Regions from separate parts of the Homo sapiens genome. Here region 1 is linked to region 2. The links are contacts of gene promoters, found by promoter capture Hi-C in human tissues and cell types (Jung and others, 2019). All regions are on one chromosome and are shown on one strand. The core of a region is centred on a gene start or on the middle of the fragment in contact, and the rest is flanking DNA. Distances in the headings are between cores, read along the strand shown.

What was found. Contacts are between HindIII fragments. The study calls those that stand out against the background at their distance.
Region 1: a contact is called between a fragment that was not itself captured here and the fragment with the promoter of ERCC8 in region 2, in 1 of the 25 tissues and cell types used here (dorsolateral prefrontal cortex).

The regions. Positions count from the first base shown.
Region 1 is chr5:61,351,368-61,357,734 of GRCh38, reverse strand. All of the region lies in intron 1 of ZSWIM6 (zinc finger SWIM-type containing 6), which reads right to left. Among named protein-coding and RNA genes, the nearest start is that of ZSWIM6, 22 kb to the right of the region's middle. The HindIII fragment of the contact is 6,044 bases long and covers 1-5,783 here.
Region 2 is chr5:60,941,074-60,946,919 of GRCh38, reverse strand. It overlaps ERCC8 (ERCC excision repair 8, CSA ubiquitin ligase complex subunit), which reads left to right and starts at 1,850. Exons shown (of 12, transcript NM_000082.4): 1 at 1,850-1,988. The coding sequence starts at 1,912. It overlaps NDUFAF2 (NADH:ubiquinone oxidoreductase complex assembly factor 2), which reads right to left and starts at 1,715. Exons shown (of 4, transcript NM_174889.5): 1 at 1,538-1,715. The coding sequence starts at 1,664. RefSeq lists an enhancer at 950-1,079. The HindIII fragment of the contact is 9,089 bases long and covers 1-3,901 here.

The DNA.
Region 1 (6,367 bases), core at 1,512-4,011, 410 kb before region 2:
TCTATTCTGAGATTATTTTTTAATTATATTAGAATGTTTTGTTTTAAACTGTAATTACTACATGAGCCAGTTCTGGGTGTGTTTACCCACAGATACACTCTGAGAGCTCTATATCTCAAGTGAGCTGATCACTGCCAGACCCCATTTCTCAGGCTACTAGATCAGCTGGCTTTTCTCTGGGTTCAGTCTACAAGAGGCACTGGTGCAAAACTGGAAGGTGAGAAGGAAGGATTCACAACATTTCTCCCACTCCTTCCATCTCTTCTTTAGGTAGTGTTTCCAGCAATGGCTGCATTGCTTCCATGGCTCCAGCTCCTACTTGCCCCTACCAGGAGGTTTCAGTCTCCTGAGGTGAACCCTGGCTCCTAAATTCCCATAGCCTAACCCTAGTGACTGTATTATCTTTGTGTATTATTTTCGTGCTGCTTTAAAAGCCCTCATCATTCAATCTACCTTGCTGTTTCAGCTGCATAACCTGAATAACCAATACCCTGCACTGAATTCCTGTTTCAAAAACTTAAGGGTAGTTTCTCTTTTCCTGGGTGGACCCTGACCACTACATTAGGCCAGTGGTTCTGTGCGTATCAGAATCACCTGGAATGCTTATTAAAACCCAGATGCTAGGCCCCATCTCCAGAGTTTCCCAGTCAGTATGTCTATGTGAAGCCCAAGAATGTGTATCTCTAACAAATTAAGAGGTGATGATGATGCTATTGAACCGGAGACTACATTTTGAAAAATACTACAAAAAACAAAGAATTGACCATCTTACGTTGGTCTGTTTCTCCTCCTTTTTATAAACTGGATAGTAAAATCCAAGAAACACTGAAACTCAAGAAAACCCATACTTCTTCTGTCTTTACACTATATACATATTATATATATTACATAATTATATATAAAATATATATTTTTTATTTATCAATTATATATTTATATTATATATAAAATATTTATATATATATTATACATATTATATATAATATATATATATAATATATATTATATATTATGTTATATATATTATATATATAAAATATGTATATTATATATTATGTTATATATATTATATATATATCAAACCTGTAAGACAGCTTATTACTATAAAAGCCAACGTTTTTAAGGAATGAGGGTTTTCTCTTTTTTAATTTTCACAGCCAAGTCCAAAGGAATGATTTTTTAAAGTAAATATATTAGGTTGGTGCAAAAGTAATTGCAGTTTTTGCCCTTACTTTCAATAATTTCATTAATAGCATTCATTGTATTTTACCAGAAATAAAATCCCAAATATCATAACCAACCCACTGAACTTCTACGAAAATAAAATGAATTCTAACTCATTGTAAATAACTCAGCCAATGAAGTCTGAAACCTACAAAATAATCAATTGGCAGATGGTTCTTCTGCCTTAAAATTTAAGATAAAAAACAGTCTCAAATAATGTGAAGGGCAACTTAAAAAAAGTGTTTGAAGCTGGGCATGGTGGCGTGCACCTGTAGTCCCAGCTATTTGGGAGGCTGAGGCAGGAAGATCACTTGAACCCGAGTTCGGGGCTGCAGTGAGCTATGATTCTGACACTGCACTCCAGCTTGGACAACAGAGCAAGGCTCCATCTCTGCCGAAACACACACACAGACACACACACACAGTGTTTTGAAACTAAGGTTTAAGAATCACTACAGTGTTTAGATTTATGCTGGCAAAAAGTTAAAATCAAGTATGTAATCAAATCATAACTGAATTGTATACATAAACAGAAAGAACTTATTATGAGACCAAAGGGCCTAGAGACTAGCACTAATTAAAAAATAATGAAGCCACTATGTAATTTTAAATTTCCTAGTAGTCACATTTTAAAAATTAAAATAAACAGGCTAAATTAATTCTAATAATACTTTTAACACAAATATTATCATTTCAATAAATTGTTCATAATGTTTTACATTCTTTTTATTGCACTAAGTCTTCAAACTCTGGTGCATGTGTTACACTTTCAGTAATCTCAATTCCAGCCTGCCACATGGCTACCACATCAGACAGCAAAATTATAGATGAATTAAAATTTGCCAGTCTCTTTACTGAACAGATTGATATTTAGCATAATGGTAGCAATCTACTATCCTTTTCTACAAATTACTTGTAAATTATATTTTTTAAAAGTTTAAAGCTTTAAATGTATTGTTCTCTAACACTTAGTTACAAAACTAAGTTAACATTCTGGCTCCTGCCATCTAATAGTGTGTGTGTGTGTGTGTGTGTGTGTGTGTGTGTGTGTGTGTGTGTGTGTGTGTGTGTGTGTGTGTTTTAAAGTCTCTCAAGAGATTCGCACTGTAAACAGGTAAGCTACATCACTTAGCTACATCAATACCATCACTGCTATTTATTTTTCTAGTCTGAAAGCCGGGGGCATCTCAACTTGACTTTCTCTAGCCCAAAGGAACACCCAGGAGCCACTGTAGGCCTCCACTGGCACCCAGAATAAGGAATTCTCATCTCCTGGGCTTGAGAACAGAAAACTAAGTCACAACTACCAAGCTAAATACCCAAGCTGACGTATCTGGTCCTTTGACAAGGGAAACTGATATAACCCCATCACTAATTCAACAGCAGCAGTTACTCAGTGGGGCTAGTAGAATTGTGATAAACAAAAAATATCAGTCACATTTTTAATGTGATTAAAATAATACTTTAATACTGAATTAAAAACAGGACAAATCAGCTTGAGATACCTTTAATTACTCATGATCTGTAAAATGAGACCAGATTATAAAATTAAAAATCTAAATAGACTACAAAATAGCTCTTACTTTCAGTAGAAAGTAAAATAAAGTACAACATATATTGCCTTAATACAGTTGATGATCAAAATGCAGTCTAAGAATGGAATATATAATAAGTCACTGAATACAGAGGCAGACTATAAGTCATAAAATGGTGCTTTGAGAAACTCCCTCAACTGTCCTTAATATTCAAAATCCAGGGTATGATAATGGTTTACTCTAGAATCAAGTGATGTATGAATTTAAATTAGACCCTAAAGAAATGCAGGGGGATTGAAATGGAGCCTCTAATACCAAACAACTTATGAACCCCTCAAAAATAATGGACTGTTCCTTCGCTTACCAGAAAGTGAGTTTTCTTTTGCACATAAAACTCTTGCCATAAGCAAAAATGTACTTGTGTGTCTATGCAAGAGTAGTGTGATAATTACATACTTTTGGGGCTTAAATACATCTCGTGTCACGTCACACCTAAGGCATACAGTTATTTCATTTTGAACCATTCACTCCAGAGAGTAATTATTCATCCTATAACTTGGTCATAAAATGCAGAGCTTACTCAGTATTTCAGCAATTGTACAGCATAGGTGGATTTTTACATGGTACTTCTATAAATCAGATAACCAAAACATGTACCTTAATAAGTTAAAGTGCTAAAATTATGGTGAGTTATATAGACTTCCTAAGCTTTTAACTTGTGCCCAGTCTACACAGAAAGCTGCAAATGCTACAGGTAGATCCAACTATGGAATAAAGTTGAACACGCAGGCAGTTAATCTGAGCAGGGATAAGTACGATGGCAGCAGGAATGAGGTCACAAGAAGGCATGAAGACATTCAAAAGACCATTCCTGGATGCTGCCTGGAAAGATAACCTTTCCTCATCAGCAAACAGAAGAGTTTCCTAAAACAAAGCGGGGAAAGCACATTTTAAGGCTTGCTCTAAGAGTTAGGTCTTTAAGCTATAATTCGGTAGTAAGAGAATGTCTACAGCATCTGCTGAATCTATCTACAGGGCTGCCAACACAATCCACAAGAACTCGAAGTTGTGCCTTCCAGTAACTGAGGTGTGTGCACCTCTACTGCCTCACACAGCTTGTTATACTCATCTGTTTCTGAAGGATGTCCTACACACATTGCCCCAGTCTCCCACTAAAAATCGAGAAAATGGTAATTGTTTCAAGTCAAAGTATTTATGTCACTAAATGTTGTGACTGAAATTATTTGTAAATGTCCAACAAAGAAAAAGTCACCCTCAACTGAGTGTAGTATCAGCTCCAAGGAACAAGAAGGTACTATATCGTGAATGGGTTACACATCCATTACTACTTATCAAAGAGAAAAAAATAAAACATAATACATTCAGAAGTAGTGAAACACTGCTCAGAGGTCAGGCCACTATATTTGAATGGTATCACAGACCAAGGAGGACTGTGAATGACACATGTGCAAAAAGACAAGCTGCCTCTAGCAACACTTGGAAAACAAAGTACAACATGATCCCACTTGAGAGCTGGGAGGCCTAGGTGTTCAAGTCCAGCACAGACTTCCCAGATGCTCCTGACAAGTGACTTAACATATCTGTTTCCTCAGCCTTAGAATGAGAATACCTTCTCCTCAAAGTTGTTATGAGAGCTAGAAATCATGCTTGTAAAGCACAGAACTGGTACTACCCAAAAGGTGGTCAATATGTTGAGCTGCAACAATATAAAATGGCAAATAAATGTGTTTCAAATGAGAGCTCATCCCAATCCTCATCCCAAACAAGACACTGAAAAATTTCAGGTTTCTCCAAGACCACTTTGAGACAGAAATGACTTTCATGTGGCAGATCATTCTACCCTGCTACTTATGTTAACTTGAGGAAGCAAAGATTAAAAACAAACTGAAAAAAAGCTCAAGCATAAGCAAGAATGCACAGATCAACAGACGGGGAAAAAAAAGTTCAGGCAGACTTGCTATGGCCCACAGTGACCTGCACATGAGCTCCAAGGTCAGTGCCTTGCCCCCATGACCAAACACAGTTGCTCATCCAAGAGAACTGACAAGACAGGAAAGAAGAGAACTGACCTATGCATGTGAGCAAAAGAAAGTCTCGTGCTCTAACTACACACCTACCACCATCTTGCAATCTTTGGCTGCAAACAGGACTGTTTGGTTTTTCCCTGTAATACATGCCAAACAGAATGTATTAGAGACTATGTCATATAAATCCACATTCTAAGACAACTGACCTTGATAAAGTACTTACTGTAATTAAAATAGCATACCGTTTCTTAAACTCAGATTCTAAGAAAGTGCCTCTAACCATAAAGGTGAATGCAAGTGTACCTTTGGAAAATCTGGGAGTGGCCCAAAGTAGCCAAACACACAAAACTAGGCTGTATTTTTCAAACTGGCATATTCTTTGTGTGATGGGTGTGAAGCAATAGATAGATGGAACCACTGAATAAAAGCAATGCCTCCTCCTGGAGAGTTATGAAAATATTCCCAAAGTAAAACACCACTTCCTTCATCCATTTATTCAACAAACTTTTATTGAGAGACAACTATGTGCAAATGGTTATACTGATAGCCATGGATACAAACAGATGTACATATACATATTCACACACATATTTACAGTTTCTGCTCTCCTGGAGCCTACAATCTCATGGGAGAGGACAATCCAAAAAAGAAAAATCACACAAAAAACTATGATTAGGATTCAAAGGAGGTAATTTGTTGCCAGGATTATTTCTCTGAGCCAAGATGACAATTAGGGCATGAACCAAGCACAGAAGAGCATTCCAGACAGAAAAAAGAACATAGGCAAAGGCAGGTAGCAGGGCAGCCTAGACACATCTGAAAGGCAGGAGAGGACATTGTGCAGAAGGTGGCTGAGGGTCCAGGCCAGACCATGCTGGGCCTTGTACACCCATGAATGACTTCAGGCCTCTGAACAAAGGGACGCCACTGAAGGTTCTGCACAGGGTAGGTATGAACAACACCATCCTGGCTGCAATATAGATTCTAAGAGCTGAGCCCTGCCTGTCTAAAGTTTGCAAGCTGATTAACACTCTTATACATACACAAAGTCCACTCTTACACATGCATGTGTGTACAAACATAGCATATAAAATTTTTTTAATGGCGCTCTATGGTACAAATTAGAAGTGCAGAAAGGACACTAACAGGTCAGAAAGGGGGGAAATGCTTGATGTGATGGCTAATCCAGTCTAAACTTCACTGAAAATATTAAACTGTGATAGCAAAAATAGAATGTGGAATAGGTAGTCTGGGTCATATCACCACAACTTTCCAAGGCAAGGATTTATGAGAATACCCAAAAATACAATTGAAAAAACCACAAGTAAGATTTGAGTTCATAATAAGCCCTTAAAATTTTATTTGAAATTATTTTTCTGAATAATTTATTTGTAAATCTTTAAATTGGGGGAAATGCTAACCAACTCTCTTCATTTATTAATGAAAGTTTCCAAAAGAAGGGAATGTAGATCTTAGTGCAGTCATATGACATAAGGAATTCACAAACATAAATCTAAGAGTTGTTCTATCTTCTTCCATCTTCCACTTGCCATGGTACAT
Region 2 (5,846 bases), core at 601-3,100:
GAAGCAAGCCAGACTCAAAAGTCTAAATCCTGTATAATTCCATTTATATGATATTCTAGAAAAGACAAAACTATAGGCCCATAAAACACATCAGTAGTTGCCAAAGGGTGTGGGAATGAACTACTAAGGAGTTGGAGGAAATTCTGATGGTGATGGAATTATTCTATTACTTGAATCCAGTGAGGTTACTCTACTCATTTGTCAAAAACAATAAAACTGTACACCATAAAGGGTGAATGTTACTGTATGTAAATTATATTTCAATTTAAAAAAACTCAGTCTGACAGTTTGCATATTTTTAATTTTACTGACAACTTATGGAAAAGAAACATCTCTCTGCTTGCAACCTGTCAAGAAATACTTAACACCATGCTATGTTCTTTGCAGGCTTTTTTCTTTTTTTGTGAGACATATTCCCTGCCTGACAGAGGAGCTCATTAGGGAAACAAGTCTAAATATTAAAATAAGTTACAGAAAAAGGCCAGGCAAAAATAAATTAATTGAGTGATAAATCACAGAATACATTTTATATGTGTGGGAAATGAATGGCACATAATCTTGGAAAGGTCTTAGTGCTTCTCAACATTGCTGATCTTATATTATCTCTAACTTTCAAGTGAGGATGTTGAGACTTGGAGAGGACAAGTACTTTTTCCGTGATTCCCGAGCTATCAGGTGTCAAAGCTGAGATTCTAACCCACGCCTCTTCGCCCAAAACCTGACATTTTCTGCATGCGGCGATGGAACAACACAGAAGAGGTTACGACGGCGGCTACACAGTGTGATTTCAATGGACAGCAACGCCTCCTTACTCCCCAAACAACCCGCTCAACTACTTGGCACGAATCCTACACAGTAACACCATGATTATTGCCACGTTTCTTAAATTGAGCTCAACGGGGTCTTGGAATGTCAACTCCCGAGAAAGGAATCAGCGAGCCTTGTGGGGATATGGACCTACTTCTGACAAGTCTTGGTAGTAAGGAAGGCGCATGGGGCCAGCGCCGGAGCCAGGGTGCCACCGAAAAGGGTAAACACCAAGAAAGAAGACAGCCGAGGCGCTGAAGATACTCCTCTTCAATTACACCACTCAGCTCTGGGTCACAAGGCGGGGAACAGCGTACGAAAAACCCCTCCCCTGGCCCTTCTAGCCCCTTTGGTGAAAGATTTCCGTGGACTTTTCCCTGCCTCCGTCGCCAGTCCAGGGCTAAAACTGAGGCTCCTCTACAGGCGTGGCTGGGAGGAAAGTGGTGGTGCGCCTTAACAGCGCAAGCAGCCCGGGGCACGCCGGGGGAAGGCGCTGGGTAGTAGGGACCGCGGACGCACGAGGCCGGGCCAAGGCGCCCAGAGCCGGGCCGGGTAGGGCTCCGATGCCAGAGTGAAGGGGTCGACAGGGGAGAACGAACTCGGGAAATTCTCTCCGGTGACACCCTAAGTGTCGCATGATGCGTTAGTTGACTAGGGGCTCTCACTTTTCCCTCCTTTACTGACCTCGCAATCACTGACCACGCAATCGCTGCCCACGCCGCCACCTCACCTCTCCAGTTCTTGTACTGCGGGATGTAGTAGTATTTGTTCCCGAATTGGTCCGTGCCCACGTGCTCCTTCACTTCCCTTGACAGCGATCTCCACAAGGCGCGGAACAAATCCTGAGACCAACCCATGCCGTCCACCCAGTTTCCAGCGCTGCCAGCAGCGGGACCCGCAGTAGGGGTAATGCTCCAGCCGCCGACCCAGCCCACCGAGGCGGAGAAGTCAGGTCGGCCTCCATCCTGGAGCCCTTCTAGTAACGGCGCTCACCATTGGCCGGATATATCACCGACTGACCAATGGGAGACTCTGCTGTTCCAGTCCCGCCCCTGAGCTCTGTCATGGCGACGTCCAGTGCTCCAGCCGGTGTGAGGACACGATATGCTGGGGTTTTTGTCCGCACGCCAAACGGGTTTGGAGGACCCTCTTCGCCTTCGGAGAGCAGAGTCAACACGGAGGTAAAGAAAACCTTACTTTTTGGCTAACAGGCCAGTTAGAATCTGGACCAATGACTGTAAGCTTTGCCCCACACTTTCCCGTCTCATCGCTCTCCTGCCACCAAACTATTATTTGCCCTCTAATGCTGTGTGGCTTGCTAAAATAGGATCCCTTTTATTTACTGGTAACAACTTGCAGGCGGGGGGCGGCGGGGGTGGGGGGGGTTCCCCGGGGGTGGGGGGGGGGTTCCCCCGCGGGCTCAGGTGAAGACACTATAAACCTAAATAAGAATACTTCGTTGTACTGTATTCCTTCTCTCTTAAGTTACTCCAAAGAATAACTGCCCTCCACGGACTCGTTCATTCATTCAGTCTGCATATTTAGTGAATTCCTACAGTGTGCCAGGCAGCCTATTAAAGGCAGAGGACACAGGCCAGGAATTGAACAAAGTTCAGAATGACTAGAGCGGAGAATTGGGGTAGGGACCATTGACAAGAGATGAAGTAGACAGAAACTAGATGAGGAAGAGCCTTGTGTACTTGAGTAGAGGTGTGAAGATGAGAATAAGGTAACAGCTATTGCATTTTGTTTTCTGCTTGGAGAATGGGTTGCAACTGAGAACAAGAGTGGGAGCCAAGTTAGGTAACTGTTGTGATTACACTTGTCCGGGAGAGAGTTGTTGGAAGCCTGGGCCACAGAGTTGCCAAGTAGAATAAAGATAGTGGAGAGATTTGAACAACGTCTGAGAAATAGAATCAACAGGCCATGGAAATTGAGTGGATACGTGAATGACAAAAAGAGAAGAATGAATAATGATTCCCAGATCTATGCCTTGTATAAGAAGTTGAATGTTGGTAATATACTCTGAGAGAGGGTTTTCCAAAGGGAAGAAGCAAGTTGTACTTTTAATTTTGCCCACATTAATTGAGGAACCTGTGAAGATATTTACTTGGAGAACACAGTTGCTTATGAGTTCTGCGTTCTGGAGAAATTTAAATATTAGTTTCCAACATTTTATCCATTACGTTTTCAATGTTGTGAAATATCTCTGAGAGTTCCTTTAATGTGTTTTTTTTGCCAGTGTCACTTCCTCTGACACATCATCAGCCTTTCATCACAATCACTTTTCCTCATTTATGTCTATAAGTTCACCTTCACTGATTTCCTCAGTCTGCATATCTAGAATGTCTCAAATGGCGGCAGTGTCATTGTTGCCACAATCAGCATGTTCCCACAGGCAGCTTTTTTTTCATTTGCTCCATTTATGTTTAATGCAAGTTTCACTTCTAGTATTATCACTCTTCTTTAGTGCACTTTCATTCTTTTGGCCAATTTCCTCTTTTAATCTGTAAAATTCCATGTGGGTTTATCTCAAGGGCACAGAAATATTAATAACAAACCTCCATGCTTTGCAGCCTGTGTGTGAACTGAATAACAGATGCACAGTGACCAATCACCCATAGACTTTGAAAGAAGTAAAATTGCAAATTGGTCAATTTTGATTCATATGTTATTTATGTAATGATTTGTGAACTGAAAAGCTAGTAGCAAACTTTTATGCTATTTCTCACGGTTAATAAACTGTGGTAACTGAAATTCATATCAGACTGTGCCAAGTGAGGATTGCTTATACGTTTAAGACAAATAAAGTATTTAAAAATTAAAAAAATATTTTTTTTTTGAGGCAGGGTCTTGCTCTGTCACCCAGGCTGGAATGCAGTGGTGCAGTTACAGCTCACTGCAGCCTCGACTTTCCAGGCTCAAATGATCCTCCCATCTCATCCTCCTAAGTAGCTGGGACCACAGACATGTGCCCACACACCTAGCTAATTTTTAAATTTTTCGTAGAGATGGGGTCTCCCTATGTTTCCCATTCTGGTCTTGAACTCCTGGGCTGAAGTGATCCTCCTGCCTTTGCCTCCTAAAGTGCCGGGATTATATGTGCGAGCTACCACACAGCCTAAAATTTTTTTAAAAATATTTCCATCATTAAGTGATGTTTTTGCTTAAACAATTATATAGTTCCATTTTATTCATAGGAGATGTCTACTGTTCTTCCTTGTCATCATGTAAGAGCAAAAGGATGAACACTGATATGCAGTGTTCACAGTTTACACCCTCTAAAAAAACATTTTACAACTTTATTGAGGTATAATTGACATGCAATACCCTGCACATTAAATGAGAATATACAATTTGATGAATTTTGACATATATTTACTTTTGAAACCATTACCATAATCAAGAGAACATCCATAACCCTAAAAAATTTTTGACGGTCATTTATAATCCCTGTCTCCCTTCTTTCTCTGCTTTACCCTCTTCCTTCTCTAGAAACTACTAATCTGCTTTAGGTCACTATAGATTAGTTTGCATATCTAGTATTTTATATAAATGGAATCTTTTTTGTCTGGCTTCTTTCACTCAGCATAATTACATTATTTTGAAATTTCTCCATGTTATTGCATGTATCAATTCCTTTTTTTTGCTGTGGAGTATCCCACTGTGCAGATATACCACAGTTTATCTAGTCACTTGTCGATGGACATCTGAGTTGTTTCCAGTTCAGGACTAATACATTTACAGCTGCTCTGAAAATTCATGTATGAGTCATTGTATGAACATATGCTTTTATTTCTCTGAAGTTAATGCATAACAGTGGAGCTACTAGATAAATCCTTTACTTTTTAAGAAACTGACAGTTTTCCAAAAGCATTTTCCAGTCCCACCACTAATAGGTGAGAGTGCTAGCTGCTCCATATTTATGTTTCCCCTTTCCTGCTTTCATTTGACTGTTTGAACATTATTTAGTATTCTATTTTATATACTATGGTTTTGACTATATCTTTTTGTATAATTCTTTAGTGGCTGCTCTAGGAATTATAAAATACTTACTTTTCGTTGTCTACTTCGGATCATTTCATTGTTTTACTGCTTCATTTGGCATATAGAAACCTTATCACCCTTTCCCCTGCACCATATATATATTGTTGTCTTATATTTTATATTTACATACATTATATACTCTATCAGACATTATAATTTTTTCCAACCATCAATCATATTTTAAGGAAAAAAGTAGCCATTATATTTAACCAGATAGTTATTTCTGTTGCTGTCTCTTTATTCCTGATGCCTCAAATTTCCTTCTTATATCTTTTTCTTGTCTCTGAAGAATATAGTTTATCAATTTTTTTAGAGTAGGTCTAATGGTTTCTGAAAAGGAATCTGCAGCCATTCAAATCATTGTTTTCCTATAGGTAATTTATCATTTTTCTCTGGTTGCTTTGAAGACTTCGTCTTTAGTTTTCAGCAGTTTAATTATGATGTGTCTGGTTGCAGATCTCTTTGGATTTATCCTAGTTAGGGTTCATTCTGCTTCTTGAACTTGTAGACTTATATCTTTCCATAAACTTGGGAACTTTCCAGCCATTTTTTCCAATGTTTTTTCAACACTACACTCTTTCTCTTCTCCTTCTAGACCTCCAATGACAAAAATGTTAGTCCTTTTATAATTGTTCCTCTGATCCCTAAGGCTTTGTTCTTTTTCCCTTCGATCTTTTTTCCTCTATATTGTTAGATTGTATAATTTTAATGGATCTATCTTCAAGTTCACAGATTTTTTCCTCTGCCATCTCCAATCTGTTAGTGAATACATTAAGTTAAAATAATTTTATATTGAAAACTAAAATTTCCATTTGGCTTTTATTTATGTCTTCTATTTCTTTGCTGAGACTTTCTGTTTTAACATCTGTTTCAAGTGTGTGCACAATGGCTTACTCAAGCTTTTTTTTTATTTTTAGAGATGAGGCCTCACTGTTTTGCCCAGGCTGGTCCTGAACTCCTAGGCTGAAGCAGTCCCCCTGCCTCAGCTTCAC